Linked DNA regions of Homo sapiens: region 2 is linked to region 1. Evidence: promoter capture Hi-C in human tissues and cell types (Jung and others, 2019). All regions are on one chromosome and are shown on one strand. The core of a region is centred on a gene start or on the middle of the fragment in contact, and the rest is flanking DNA. Distances in the headings are between cores, read along the strand shown.

Region 1 (6,778 bases), core at 3,143-5,642:
TGTAATCCACACATCTATAAAATTAATTCCTTATACAATAAAAGAAAAATTCAAAACAGAAGTCATTCAAAAACAGCATCTGAAAATAAAATTCCTTTGCTGAAAATAGTTTCAACTTTCTCCTCCATATGTATTAACAACTGATGCTTGTTTTACTGAAAACAGTTAAAAGCCAAGCTTAATTTGGGAAGAAACTCAAAAATATCTTTGGATCAGATTTTTCCCTACTATTTTTTGTGCGTGACTGTTAGCTGAAGTTTATAAACAAAATATTGAAATGAAATCAAAGGGTGAGAGATCACTACAAATTTGTCATGCTTTCCTGTGCTTTAAATTACAACTCCTTTTTCCTCTTCTCCCAGTATGGGAAAACATTCTGGAAGCTATATTTCCTGAAGAACCTGAAGTCCCTGTTTTAGAGCTGAAATCATTAGGATCCTAGTGAAAACCTACACACAGAAAGTAGGGTCAAATGTATCAAGGTGCTTGAAGAAAGACACATTTCTCCCTCTGGTCCCGGCACCTCACACTCATTTCTCTCAGTACCTCATATATTTTCTTCTCTGTGTGGACTAACCATTGACTTCAAAGGAAAATCATGCAAGGAAAGGATTTGCAGGGTGTGGAAAGAAGCAGGAATCTGGCTCCACATATTCTGAGAAACCTATCCACATGATTAGTGATGAAGAGATTCAAGTGGCAAGATGTTAAGATGAAAGTACACAAATAATTAATGGAAGGGAATGGTTGAGACTGGAGATTGTAAACTCTCCAAAGCCAAGAATTTCAAATAGAAGTCTAAATTTTCGTTGTTATTATCTAAGACATGGATTTTTGCAAATCGGCAGTCATCTCCCTTTCTTTAGAGAAGGCAACAATATCACAAATAAAGATACCAAGAAGACAGAGACTGTGTCAGATGTAAATCAAATGCTGATATTTGAGAAGCTGCAGCATCATCTCTTCCAAGGGGATTTACAAAATGAAGTGATGTTCAGTGTGATTTGAGGGGCCTCCCTAGGTATTTTCTTCCTTCTCCTTTCCAGTTCTTATTTAAGGTTTCATTCTTCTAGAAGCCTCATCCTGGCCTCCACCTTCACTGTCTGTTTCTGCCTACAACTTTCCTTCCACACAGGAACTGAAGCAACCACACTGAAGAACAACTTCAATCAAGTACATTTTCAACAAAAAAACTTTCAGCTGCTCGCATGACATTCATTTTAAAGACCACATGGTTGAGCATGACCTTCAATCCTATCCATTCTACCTCATCTTACTTTTCCACTCACAGACAATATTCCCCATCACATGCCCAATACTTCTGCCTCAAATGCTTGCCTTCAGTTGCTGTGTGGGGTCCTTCCTGGGACATTCCTTATACTTACGAACCTCTGTACCTTGGGCCACTTGTGATCCTGTGCTAAGATACTGACTATTCTACCATCCATCTTTTCATATGGACTTCAGTACCATATAACCCCTTCACCTGGTTTGATTCTCTATGCTGAAAATGAACTCTCAACCATAGTACAAAGTATTTCTAACAGGGTTTTTTGAAAATATATCACTTGGCCAAATGATTTTTTTTAAGTAAATTTCAGTTGATTTCACTGCTGCTCGCTTCAATATAAATGAAAAAAGAAAAAAAAAAAACACCACATAGTTCATTCACATACATTTGGGTAGAAATCTCAGCTCTGTCCCTTAACTCACAAAGAAATAAGATAACTGAGGTCTTTGAACCGGCTAAATGAGTCCAATAGTGCCAATCTTATTAGAATTAAGTGAGATGTACTTTACTACTTGGTTCATATCAGTTGCTCAACAAATTTAAGTTCCTTTCTTATTTGTTCATCTTTACATCCCCCACATACTCTTGAATATTAGGTGCTCATTTAATGCTTCTTTTATTACAGAGGATTGGATATTTGTTTCCCATGTAGGTGGGAGTGAATAGAGGGTAATTCTATATAGGCTAACTCCTACAAAGATGGCGGGGGCCCATTATATTGAATATTTCTTAAGCTTTTAAAAAAGTATCTCCATAGTGTATTCTGTTGATAACTGGTTGTCAACTTACAGTATATACTTCTTTCCTAACAATGTGTTATTTTACAATACATACAAATATAAATTCATAGAATAAATAATTATAATCAAAGCTAGTAACAACAAAAGAAACCTCTAAATAGTCAATATTAAATGTCATTTAAAAAAGAACAAACTTTGTGTGTTCTAAGAGGCTACCCATATTTTTTATTTTAAAGGTTATTAAAAAAAACTATCAAACTGGCCATCTAAACAAAGGCGCACCCTCCTTTGATGACAATTTTAGAATTATCCACTTCAGGAATTATTCACAGCATATTTGTAATTCCCAACTGGACTCTCCTTGCCTGCCAGCACTCTTGGGCTGCATTCTGCCTGTACTCAGGAAACACAGTCATTTCTACATTAGGCAAAGTGAAATATAATTACAAATGTATGTCTCCTGCCAAAAGTTCATAATGCATGCCGAAAACAAATAGACACTGCCTACGGTTGATCTACTGTTTGGGTTTTCCACACTGCGTTCCCCTTGCGTTAGCACAGATGAATTCAGGTAACCAGATTCTACTTAAGAACAGTGACATTTTAATCTTTAAAAATGAAAACCCTCAAAATATTAGCCATTATTTCAATTTAAGCTCAAAATCCCCTAAACCAGCAGTCATCTGTGAAGCATTTTTTTCTTCTTCTTCTTGAGATGGAGTCTTGCTCCGTTCCCCAGGCTGAAGTGCGGTGACACAATCTCGGCTCACTGCAACCCCCACCTCCCAGGTTCAAGAGAGTCTCCTGCCTCAGCCTCCCAAGTAGGTGGGACTACAGGTGCCTGCCACCACGCCTGGCTAATTTTTTGTATTTTTAGTAGAGACAGGGTTTCACCTTGTTAGCTAGGATGGTCTCAATCTCCTGACCTCGTGATCTGCCCGCCTCGGCCTCCCAAAGTGCTGGGATTACAGGCGTGAGCCACCGCACCCGACCCTGTGAAGCGATTTTAACATGACACATGTCAAGCATGATAACCTGCTTGATTTGAACTCACTGCTTTTTCACTTCTTCAGAAATCTTACCTAAATGCTTTCAGAGTGACCCTTTCCAAACAGTGTCATTTTCCAAACGGGCCACTTCACAAAATAAAAGAAAACCAGGTGGGTTGAATGATTTTCCTTTGCATTTAGAAAATTCTTGAGTTTTTTAACCCTTGTACCATATCAAAAACTAGATCAAAGGTCTGATAAATGTCATATTTACCATCTCAAAAGATACAGCCAGTTCTCTTTTTTATATTGTAAAAAGGCCATGTCTCCATCTGGGCATTTGTTCCCACTCTTTTATTCCCCTGCGCCTACCCTTGATATTCACTGCCTTCTCCCGTTGGCACCTCAGCCTCTACAATGATACAACAAAATACAGATGTTTCCTCTTGCCCTGATAACAAGAGAAACTTCCCAGAGCAGCAAACGAGATCTCTAAATCTCCAAGCAATATGAACTTTCAAGCAACTCCTCCCCAAACGGCAAATCCAAGGGAGAAAGTGGGAGACAGAGATGGGCAGTTCTGCAGCTTTAATCAAAGTCTCCGTGCACTGCAGTTTCAAAGGGCAGGCATCCGTACCCAGAAAGAATAAGATCTTTAAAAAGAGGCTTTCTCTTTCATTTTTATGATATGCAAATACTCAGAGTTTATTCTGCCTCCTCAAAATGAAAACCTGTACAAAGTCGTAATTTGGCTCCAAATGTTGACTAGGTGATGTGGAGTAGTGCATTATCATGAAAAATTGTTCTCTGGAAAAGGATGACTTCCTGCCGGACTGACCATCACTCTTGCCTCTTCAGACCAGACCCTCTCTTTAGCTTTAAACTTGTCCAAAGCAGCCAAGTTCAGCCAGTATTAGCACTTCCTCCCTATCTCATAATCCACAACTATTAGGCTAAGTGGGACGGGGCTTGGGTTGGAGGTGGAGGGGAGTTGAGGGAAAGTTAATTATCATTTTAAATGCTATTCAAACAACAACAAAAAAGAATGTCAAAAAAAGCATAATGAGAGCTTTTAGAAACCTATACTACATACTGAGTTCAGAAAGGATGCTGGGAATAGGGTAAAAAGAGGGTGTTAAAAGGAATAGGGAAGGTTAGCAGGAGAGTTAAATACTAATACTAATAATGAAGAAGAAGAAGGGAACTAACCTGCATAGGGGATGGCGATGGGGAGCAGGAGGAGATGCAGGAGGACATGCTGCAGCAGCAGGGCTGGCAGGAGTTTGGTCACCCACATGGTGCTGCTGGACGGGCTGGCGGATCCCTCTGGAGGAGATGCCTGGGTGAAAGAATCCTGTTCGGAGTCAGTGCCTAAAAGAGCCAGTCGGCTCTGAGCTGCTTTTTATTGCGATGAGCTAAGTTTGTTGTGTGATTAACTGGAAAGATCTAGGTCTGAACTCCCTCTTACGGTAAGAAACTGTTTAACAACAGCCCTTTACTCTCTTCCAGCCCCCTCCTTTCCTCACTCGCCCCCCCTTCAACAGCACCAAACAGATCCCTGCAACCCCCCCCATTCCCCGCCTCCCCCCAACCCCACGCTTAGGAAAGAAACTTACAAAGAAAAGGTCACCTGGCCTGAGGCCAGCTTCAATTTGGAAGCTGGAGCTCCAGATCCCAGTGGCTCCTATCCGAGTAAGGAAGGGAGGAGCAAGGCTGAGCCCAATGGCTAAATCAAGGCACAGGCAGGGGACCAATTCGCTCAATTTAAACAGGAAAATACATGTGTTTATATATCTATTTGGGAAAAGAGGAAGGGGAAGCAGCATAAGAAGAAAGCGAAGAGCTGTCTTTCAGCCAAATGTGCCCCAGCTCCTAATCTGTCTAGTTTTCCTGCTAGAGCAACTGAGGGATTCAAAACACTGACACAGGTTCTCTAGGGGTTTAGAGACCTGGGAGAGGTGGGAGCGGGGCCAGGGAGGAGAGCCCAGGCACGTCCAGCCCAGGTAGAAAGAGGTTAGTTAAGAAAAGGGTGTGGTATTGTGGGGCCAAAATAAGCAAGCAAAACAAAAGCACGCAGATTGTCAGATGAAAAAATTGCCCCTGCCCCATGGGCTCAGAGCAGGCAGCTTTTTTTTTTTTTTTTTTTTTTTTTTTTTTTCACAAACTGCCAAACTCACGAAATACCACACATTTACCCAAAGTATACAAAATAAACTTGTCTGATCTGACTTTTTAAGAGAAAGTCCAAGAAACAGTCATTGTCCATAGCCTGTCCCTGACAGGTAAATATGCCATGTGGACTTGTACAGGCACACACGTGCACACAACACATTCACACATGTTGGTGTGTATGTACGTATACACTGGTTAGGACTGACTTTCACCGGAAATCCCTCAAGCTGTTTGAATTCGTGAGTACTGAATATGCCTCTCTTTTCCAGCTTCATCTGCCTGTACACGACAGCCAGCTTCCCAAAGTGTAAGTGGAAAGATGAGGAGCTTGTATGGGCATGGGGGGACTCCTAGGTATCAAATCCTTGTGAGATCATTGCCCAGACCCCTCACTTGATTCAGAGAATTTGTCTTTGCACCCAGAGGTGGATGCTCTGGTAACTTTAAGCAAGAGCCTGCTTTATTTCTAATGGATGCTGAGGGATACTTGCCCCTGTATCTCTCTGAGATGGATATTAGTAGAGAACAGTGCCCCTGTCCACAGAGGAAAAGAAAGCAGGCCAAATGTGGGAATGACTAGAGCGGTGGGTAGCTGTACAGAAGTGATTGTGGGGCTGAATTAAACTCATCCACAGAACAGCCTTCCCTCCACATACCACCTTCATTTGTCCTCCAGCTCCCTTACCCCCACTTTCAGGGAAAAACAACCTGCCTGATAAGTCCCTGAGGTTGTGGGATATCTAGAGAAGCTAGGGATTAAGAGAATTCCTTTTGAGGGATCTATTTTATATGACCCGTTTCTATTGCTAATCCTTCTCTTTTATCATTTTCTCCTTACTTAAAAATCATTTGTCAGCCTCTGTCTGGTGTCCCCAGGATCCATTTTACTTTCTTTTTACTGTTCAGTAGACTTTTTGGGAAATCTCAGTTCAATGCATAGCCTGACCGTGACCCTGAATTGCTCCACTGCATCTCTTGTGCTTTATTAGGGTGTAGGGGCTCAGAAAAATGATACCCCAAATGAAGACCTCAGAATCAGCTCTCTCTGACCTTCTCCTGCTCTCCAGTCTCCGGCCCTTCATTCTCCCCCAAGGCGAGGCATAGAAACTAGAATCCCTCTTTCCCAAGGTGGCTCCTAGAAACCAGAACCCTTTTTCCCAAACCAGCCATAAAACCTAAGCATATCACTCTAACACCTCAACTTTCTGTGTGAAATCTGGCCATAAAGACATTATCTGACCTACCTTGTTTGATCGTAGCTCATAAGACCCCATTCCAAAGAAGGTCCTGCCCCATACCCAGAAGGAATGAGTACTGCACAGAGATACCAGGAAGAATCTCACCTTGCCAGGCGTCCCCACTCAGTCTGTTAGCATGAGATCATATTCCTTTTGTCCAGTTGTATTTCTCCACACCTGCCCACACTTTGTTGAACCTAAGCATAAAAATGGACAATTTCTTTTGTAACTTTGGGTCTTTGTTCTAAAGGCTCTCGGGTTGTGTAAAATTATGATCAAATAAATGTGTATGCCTTTTCTTCTATTGATCTGCCTCTTGACAGTAATTTTTTTTTTAGCAAACCTTCA
Region 2 (6,778 bases), core at 2,969-5,468, 150 kb before region 1:
TGTCAATTTGGTGTCTCTGTAACGAGTGATGAATCTAGCAGAACATGAGGCAAGGTGGCATTGTTTGGAGATGGAAAAAAGAATTATAACAGTCACTTCTAACATTCTCATTTGCACATTAAAAAATCAAGACTACAAGGAAGGTGTGTTGGACATTTCACTCCATTCTTGGAGAACTCAATTTATATATATGGTTTGATGGGGAACAGAACAGGAAGACGGCCAGCCTCTTAGCAGCTCTATTATTTATAGCTTCTCCAAACCCCTCACTTGTCTTATTTTTAAAATGAAGATAATATCAATTTCCTCACAGGTTTTTAAATAATTTACTTATATATAAATACAAACCTATTTACATATTTTATACTATATGTTTATATTTTAAAATTATTCATATTTGTGTATATATATGACATAGACAACAGGCATATGACACCCTTGGCTGAGAGCTATTCAAAATTTTAAACCCCATTGTCTTTCTCTGCATTGTGAGTGAAAACTGCCTCTTTATCTTCCTTTTTATCATCTTAATCTTGCTCTTTGGAGCTACCTTTAAAAAGCTTCATTGCAATTATTTTCATTGTTTCGTGAATTTGAAAAGGAATATCACAGTTTTACTTAATTGTTCATTTGTTCTATTCTCTAGGTTAAATATTACTAAGCCTGTAATTGTTTTTTAGCTGATATAATCTCAGATGCCCTCCAAAATATATGCATGTTTTTGAAAGGCATATCTGTAAATTTCTTAAGTGCAATGTCCCAAACTGTACTTGGTTATTTTGCAAATGGAAGTTGATTGGTTCAGAGTAGTATATAATCCTCTTGAGGTATACATTATACTTACATGATAACAGGGTAAGATTGCATTGACCTTTTATTTTCTACTAACTTTTGTTTGGATACTTCTATAAGAAAGACAAAATGGCTACTAATAATCATATTCAGAGATACTTAGGTTTGAGTCCTAGCTACATAGTCACAAAACTTAAAATGTATCTCATAATGTCTATTATATTATTTGAATAAATGTTGACTTTAAGTCTCATTGTTCTCTTTTGTAAAATAGGTATATAGGTTGTGCTAAGTATGGTGTCTGGTACATAGCACACACATTATGTGTGATATTAGCAGGAAATTATCATTTCTTAATTTCATTTTCAACATTATAAAGTATTCTAAGAAGCCACGTCTTACAGCTAATTTGCCTTTTTCCTTCTTGAAAAGGAACTCATCTTGATAAGCATAGTTTTAAAATACTCCCTTTCTTTTCAGTCAAGGGAATTTTAACCAGTGAAGCCTTTTCCTTGAAGATGGGGAAATCCATAATATACAGGAGATGTCTTTGATCAAACTCAATATTTTCTGCCTTGGCCATCATATATATTAAGATGGCATGGTCACTTTTCTCCAAATGGCATTAACTTTACTTAATCCTTGTTCTTGCAGATTCAAATCCAAGATAGCAGCTCACCCTGCTTACTCCCTTTACCTTCTTGAGAATCCTCTAAGACAAAATAAATATATAATAAAGGCTCTTATTTTAGTAAAACATAATTTGTACCTATCTATATTTATTGCTATCTGAGTTGTCACATTTCCACATCACAAGTACTTCTTGTCTCTGACATAGTTTTGTGATCAAATCCTCGTCATATCCTGTAGCTCACCTTTCAACTCGTCCTTTTAAATGGCTGACACATTTACATTAATACCATACAGCCTACCGTATATTTCTATTTTCCTTCTCCTTAAAACTTCACCAAAATTTTCCCCACCATCCTATAGCTTTTTATATATGTGGATATTTTCTTGATACCAAATATAGCTATATTTGATTTTTTTGTGAGAAAATCTGCCCTTTCTTTTAAATATTACAGGCACGAGCCCAGTATGACTAGTGTTAGTTATTTTCTGATTTCACATTTTTCCAATGAGTATTTATAGAAACTTGTAGATGTCTGAAACATACTTTCTGTCAATTACTGCTGTGATTATTGGTAAGATGACCATCTACTCTATCCTGGCATAATTACCAAGTGTTCTTTCACTCTCAAAATGACTGTTTTGAAGGGTGAATTATACAGTTTCTCTTATTGGAAATATAAGTTTGCTTAGAAATGTTATATCATATTGATAAAACTATTAAAAACTCAATATAAACTGAAGATGTTTTCAATCATATATATAAGATTTCAAGGCTAACTGTCGACATTGTATTTATACTCTGATTTTAAAAAGAGTTCGATTACATATTAATTTTAGTATAAACATTCTAAGGCAAGCAGCCATCAGACCCATTTGCTAATATGTTAATGAGGAAGTGCATACATGTATATTAGTTGCATTATGACAATTCTCACAGTATATGAGGATGATTATTATGGTGTCTATGCATTTCAAGATGTATTTGAGGAAAATAGCCAAACATATACATATGAATGATATGCTAATAATGTGATCATATGATCAATGTTCATATTTAGCAATATAATGTGTTCTATAAGATATTCTCGTAAATCTATATATTTTGGTTTTCCACTAGTCCCAATAACATCTCTGCTCAAGCAGTATAGAACGTTTAGATTTTTTTTTAACTTCTTCCTATTGTTCTAAACCACCTAGGTTATGTATACTGCACTTTCTGTGTCTTTTTCCTGTGGCAACTCCCACTTATCATTAAATACCATCCCCAGATGGAGTTAATTATTCCTTCCATTATCACTGCACTCCCTTCAAAAGCATTTTAATTGCCTGTTGATGTATTTCTTTCCTATCTCAAATTATGAGCACCTTGAAAGCAGAGATCATTCATTTCTATCATCATATTGTATGTCTTGCATACAATATGGAATTCAGTTAATAATGGAATAATATGTGAATGTATGAATTACATGAATGAATGAGTGAATAAATGAAAGTGTGAGTGACTTACTAAATGTGTAATGGTTATGAAATTTAGAGTACAACCAAACGTGAAGAATGCAGCCTTTTTACTTCCTACTTATAAAAATAATTGAGTGTCAGCCAGGCGCGGTGGCTCACACCTGTAATCCCAGCACTTTAGGAGGCCAAGGCGGGCAGATCACCTGAGGTCGGGAGTTTGAGACCAGCCTGACCAACATGGAGAAACCCTGTCTCTACGAAAAATACAAAATTAGCTGGGCATAGTGGCGCATGCCTGTAATCCCAGCTACTCAGGAGGTTGAGCCAGGAGAATCACTTGAACCCACGGGGCAGAATTTGCACTGAGCCAAGATCATGCCATTGCACTCCAGCCTGGGCAACAAGAGCGAAACTCCATCTCGACAATAATAATAATAATAATAATAATAATAATAATAATAATAGTAATAATAATAATTGGGTGTCAAATGGGACCATATTTTGGTATTACAGATTAGAAATCCATTTTCCTCCCAAGAAAAAAAGTGAGCAAAATGATAATAATTAAAATCAGTTTTCACATAAAAATCCAAATTCCTAGCTTCCCTTGGAAAATCATAAGATTTGGCAATACATAGTATGCATTCCTAAATGACAACCATTGGCTCGAGTTAAACAGTAGCTACTTCTTTGAGTACACAGTCCCCATCCCTATATTCTATACAGGATGTCTCATTTATTATTCGTGTATAAATTTGCCACCCAGGATTCAGTGAGTTCTATTAAAGCACTAACGTGGGATTGTTTTAAGTTAAACATCACCAATTTCAGTAAAAATGAGTGACAGACATTTTAGGGAGGAGAAAAGGAATGGAGAAATATGTAAAACTGAGGCATATTTAATGAAAATAATGTAAAAGGCCTTGTCTGAAACTTAAAGGAAGCAAAATAGTGCAATGTTTAAGAGCCTGAATTTTAGATTTGGAGAACTGATCTAGAATTTTGCTAGATTGGACAAACTGCTTAATTTCATAGAGGTTAAGTTCCCTCATTAGAGAAATAGAAGCAATAATAATTATAATAGTTTAGATCTACCTCTTAGATTTGTTGCAAGGATTAAATATAACCATATATATGTAGGCTTGGTTGAGTGTAAAGGTTTTAGACATGCCTAGACATGCTCAGACATTTATGATAGCCTAAGACAAGTCTTATCCTAAGACAAGTCAAAGACATATATAGAGAAGGGCTACAGGAAGAAGGTGAAGGAGAAGGGGGAAGCTTTCTGAGAGACAAGCATCAATGCCTGGAGCCACATCTAACAGCTTCATCCACATTTTGCAACAGTACTTAGTGTAATCTGGACATCCCAAGGGCCTCTGCTGTCTTCCCTTCAAATGTGCATATTCTGTTTAGACACAGCAGTATCTTGCAGATGATTCATTGGGAGATGGTAGGTTTCATTGGAAGTGGTACAATAAAAAGGAGAGATAGTGATACCCAGAAGCTGCCTAGCAGACAAAAGGTAGTACGGCAATAGCAAGTGTCTTCATGAGTGCCAGTGAGACACTTTCAGAAACATGTCTGAGGGTTACTTTATTAGGCAGCTAATATCCTTTGTGATAAGAAGAGGCAAAGGCCAGTAACATTTGTAAAATAGCTACTATGACATTATCTGACAATTGCATTATATAGGTAACAAAATACCAAGTGTGGTATTTTAATATTTGAAGAATTTTCTATGTATTCAGAATCCTCTGTGTAGCAGAGGTAACTTTGCATTCACCAACACCCATATCCTATTCTTCCTGATTCACGGCTACATCTGAGTCCTTTATGTGTGGTTAGTGAATGTGGAAGTGCTGTACACAATTCCAGGCCTGTCACCTAAAAACCTCCAGAATGAGCCTATTAACTCTCTGTGATGATCAGACACAGAACCATCTTCAGTGATCTTTGAGCCCTACTTACTGGGAGAGCCACACAATTTAAAGAACTTTGGTCCCTAAATGACAATGCTGAAAACTACCCATCAAACAGTAACATCTGCAATAGGCTTGAGTGAAAAAGAAATGTCTGTTGTGTTAAGCCACTGGTATTTGGGGGTTACTTACCATAACAAATAAATGTGGTCACCCAAATATTCTGAAATACCATCTCTTCAGGTCATTTCAGTTATCTGAGTCTATGTAAATAAGAAAAAAATAACAGCCAGAGCTAGCTAAAATCAGAAACCACAAGCAGTCTTTGTTCACAAGTAAGTAGTTATTTGATCTGTCCCACAACCATCATTATTTCCAATTTTGCATTGTCTACCTGAGAACTATCAAAAGCACGTCTGTCCTACTCTGTTCCCCATCTGGAAGAAAGTAGACATGTTCAAACTTCCATAGCCATTTCTGCAGTATTGTTAAAAAATCAGTGCACACTCACAAACCTGTACTTTTCTTCCTAAAATAGGGTGTTGACCTCAAACAAAAACAGGTTTAGGCTACATCTACATGGGTGACCATGTGTGGCATAAAATAGATTTTCCAGCATGCGTTTATTTGGCAATGACTTAAAAGTGCAACCAGATGTTTTCATAGAGAACAGCTCTTTTAGCCACAAATGTTTCCAATTTAAATGCATTTGTTTTGACTCTATTTTGCTGCAGATGGAAAACATCCATTTTCTTTCTTTCCATTGGGGATAGACAGTGAACGTTGGCAAATCTCATAGAGAATGATTACCAATGTAGACAAAACTTCGGTGAGAGCTGAATCTCCAGGAGAAAATTTTTAAAAGACAAGTTTGCATTTTAAACAGGTTGGCTCTTTTAAGACCATTTTCCCCCTCTAATTTGTACCATAAGTCTTAAACATCTGTATGTGTTTGAGCCTAGGGAACTTACCTTACTTTTAAGTGATAAGTCAAACAGATCTATTCAGAATGACAGCATAGCTTCCGGGCGTGCCATTGATAGTTACTGCAAACAGATATTTCAGATTTTCTTATCAAAATGTGAATTATGTAGGTGTGCTTTACTAAATTTTCTTGCAATTAGCAGGTTGAAATATTACAGGAATTGTAAATGTCTTTATAAAAATAACAGAAAAGCTTTTCTTATTTTTTCAAAAACAAACTAATGTGTACGTGACAGAGTATAAAATGATCTTGGCAAGAGTACAGATTTCTGTTTTAAGAAGCTGGGAGTTATATTTTAACTCATGAAAAGTAATGTTTTCTTTAACCAAATTATCCTTAACATTTGTTGTTTTAGTTTAACTCTATGATTTCTGAGAAGCTTTTGAAAACAAGAAGATATTTTAAAATTTTATTTCCTGTTTTAGACATTTAAATGAGTAAAAAAGGTCCAAATACTGTTTTGAGCAGTAAAAGTATTGTTTTTCCCCTGGAAGAGTAAAATCTCTGTCAGCCAGACTATAATACTTTCACAGACTGAGCACTGTGATACACATATGCTATTTTAAATGTATAGACCCTGTAAGAAGGAGCTAGAAATGCTAAAATGAATATTAATTTTTGCAGTAGTAATTAGACTGATGCAAGAACAATTGTCTGTTTTTCTCCTATGTCTTCCCACTTGCAAGTATTTCAGTTAAGATGTCATTCTTTGTGGAAAGTATTTACATATATGTTTTCTTAGTTTTTCCTTCTAGATAATATTAACTTTTGTTAGATATCTTTTGATTACTTTATCTGTCATAGATATTCCAATGAATTTTCAGTAAATTAAAGTTCATCTTTTAAAAAACCACTTCACCCACTCTTCAAACTACCTGAAAGAGTTAAGTATTCACCACCTACTACACATAGTCACTTTGGCCTCATTATACAGGATATTGTTCTTACCAATGATTATCTGTTGAGGGAAATCTGGGTTTCTCCTAGA

What was found. The method cuts DNA at HindIII sites, captures the fragments that hold promoters and counts their contacts. A contact is called where the count stands out against the background at its distance.
Region 2: a contact is called between a fragment that was not itself captured here and the fragment with the promoter of HGF in region 1, in 1 of the 25 tissues and cell types used here (H1 embryonic stem cells).

Annotation. Positions count from the first base shown.
Region 1 is chr7:81,765,655-81,772,432 of GRCh38, forward strand. HGF (hepatocyte growth factor) reads right to left here and starts at 4,393. Exons shown (of 18, transcript NM_000601.6): 1 at 4,230-4,393. The coding sequence starts at 4,317. The HindIII fragment of the contact is 8,838 bases long and covers 1,102-6,778 here.
Region 2 is chr7:81,619,376-81,626,153 of GRCh38, forward strand. LOC100128317 (a long non-coding RNA gene) reads right to left here. Exons shown (of 11, transcript NR_126025.1): 2 at 5,777-5,851; 3 at 4,998-5,068. Among named protein-coding and RNA genes, the nearest start is that of HGF, 150 kb to the right of the region's middle. RefSeq lists an enhancer at 3,494-4,693. The HindIII fragment of the contact is 3,713 bases long and covers 2,363-6,075 here.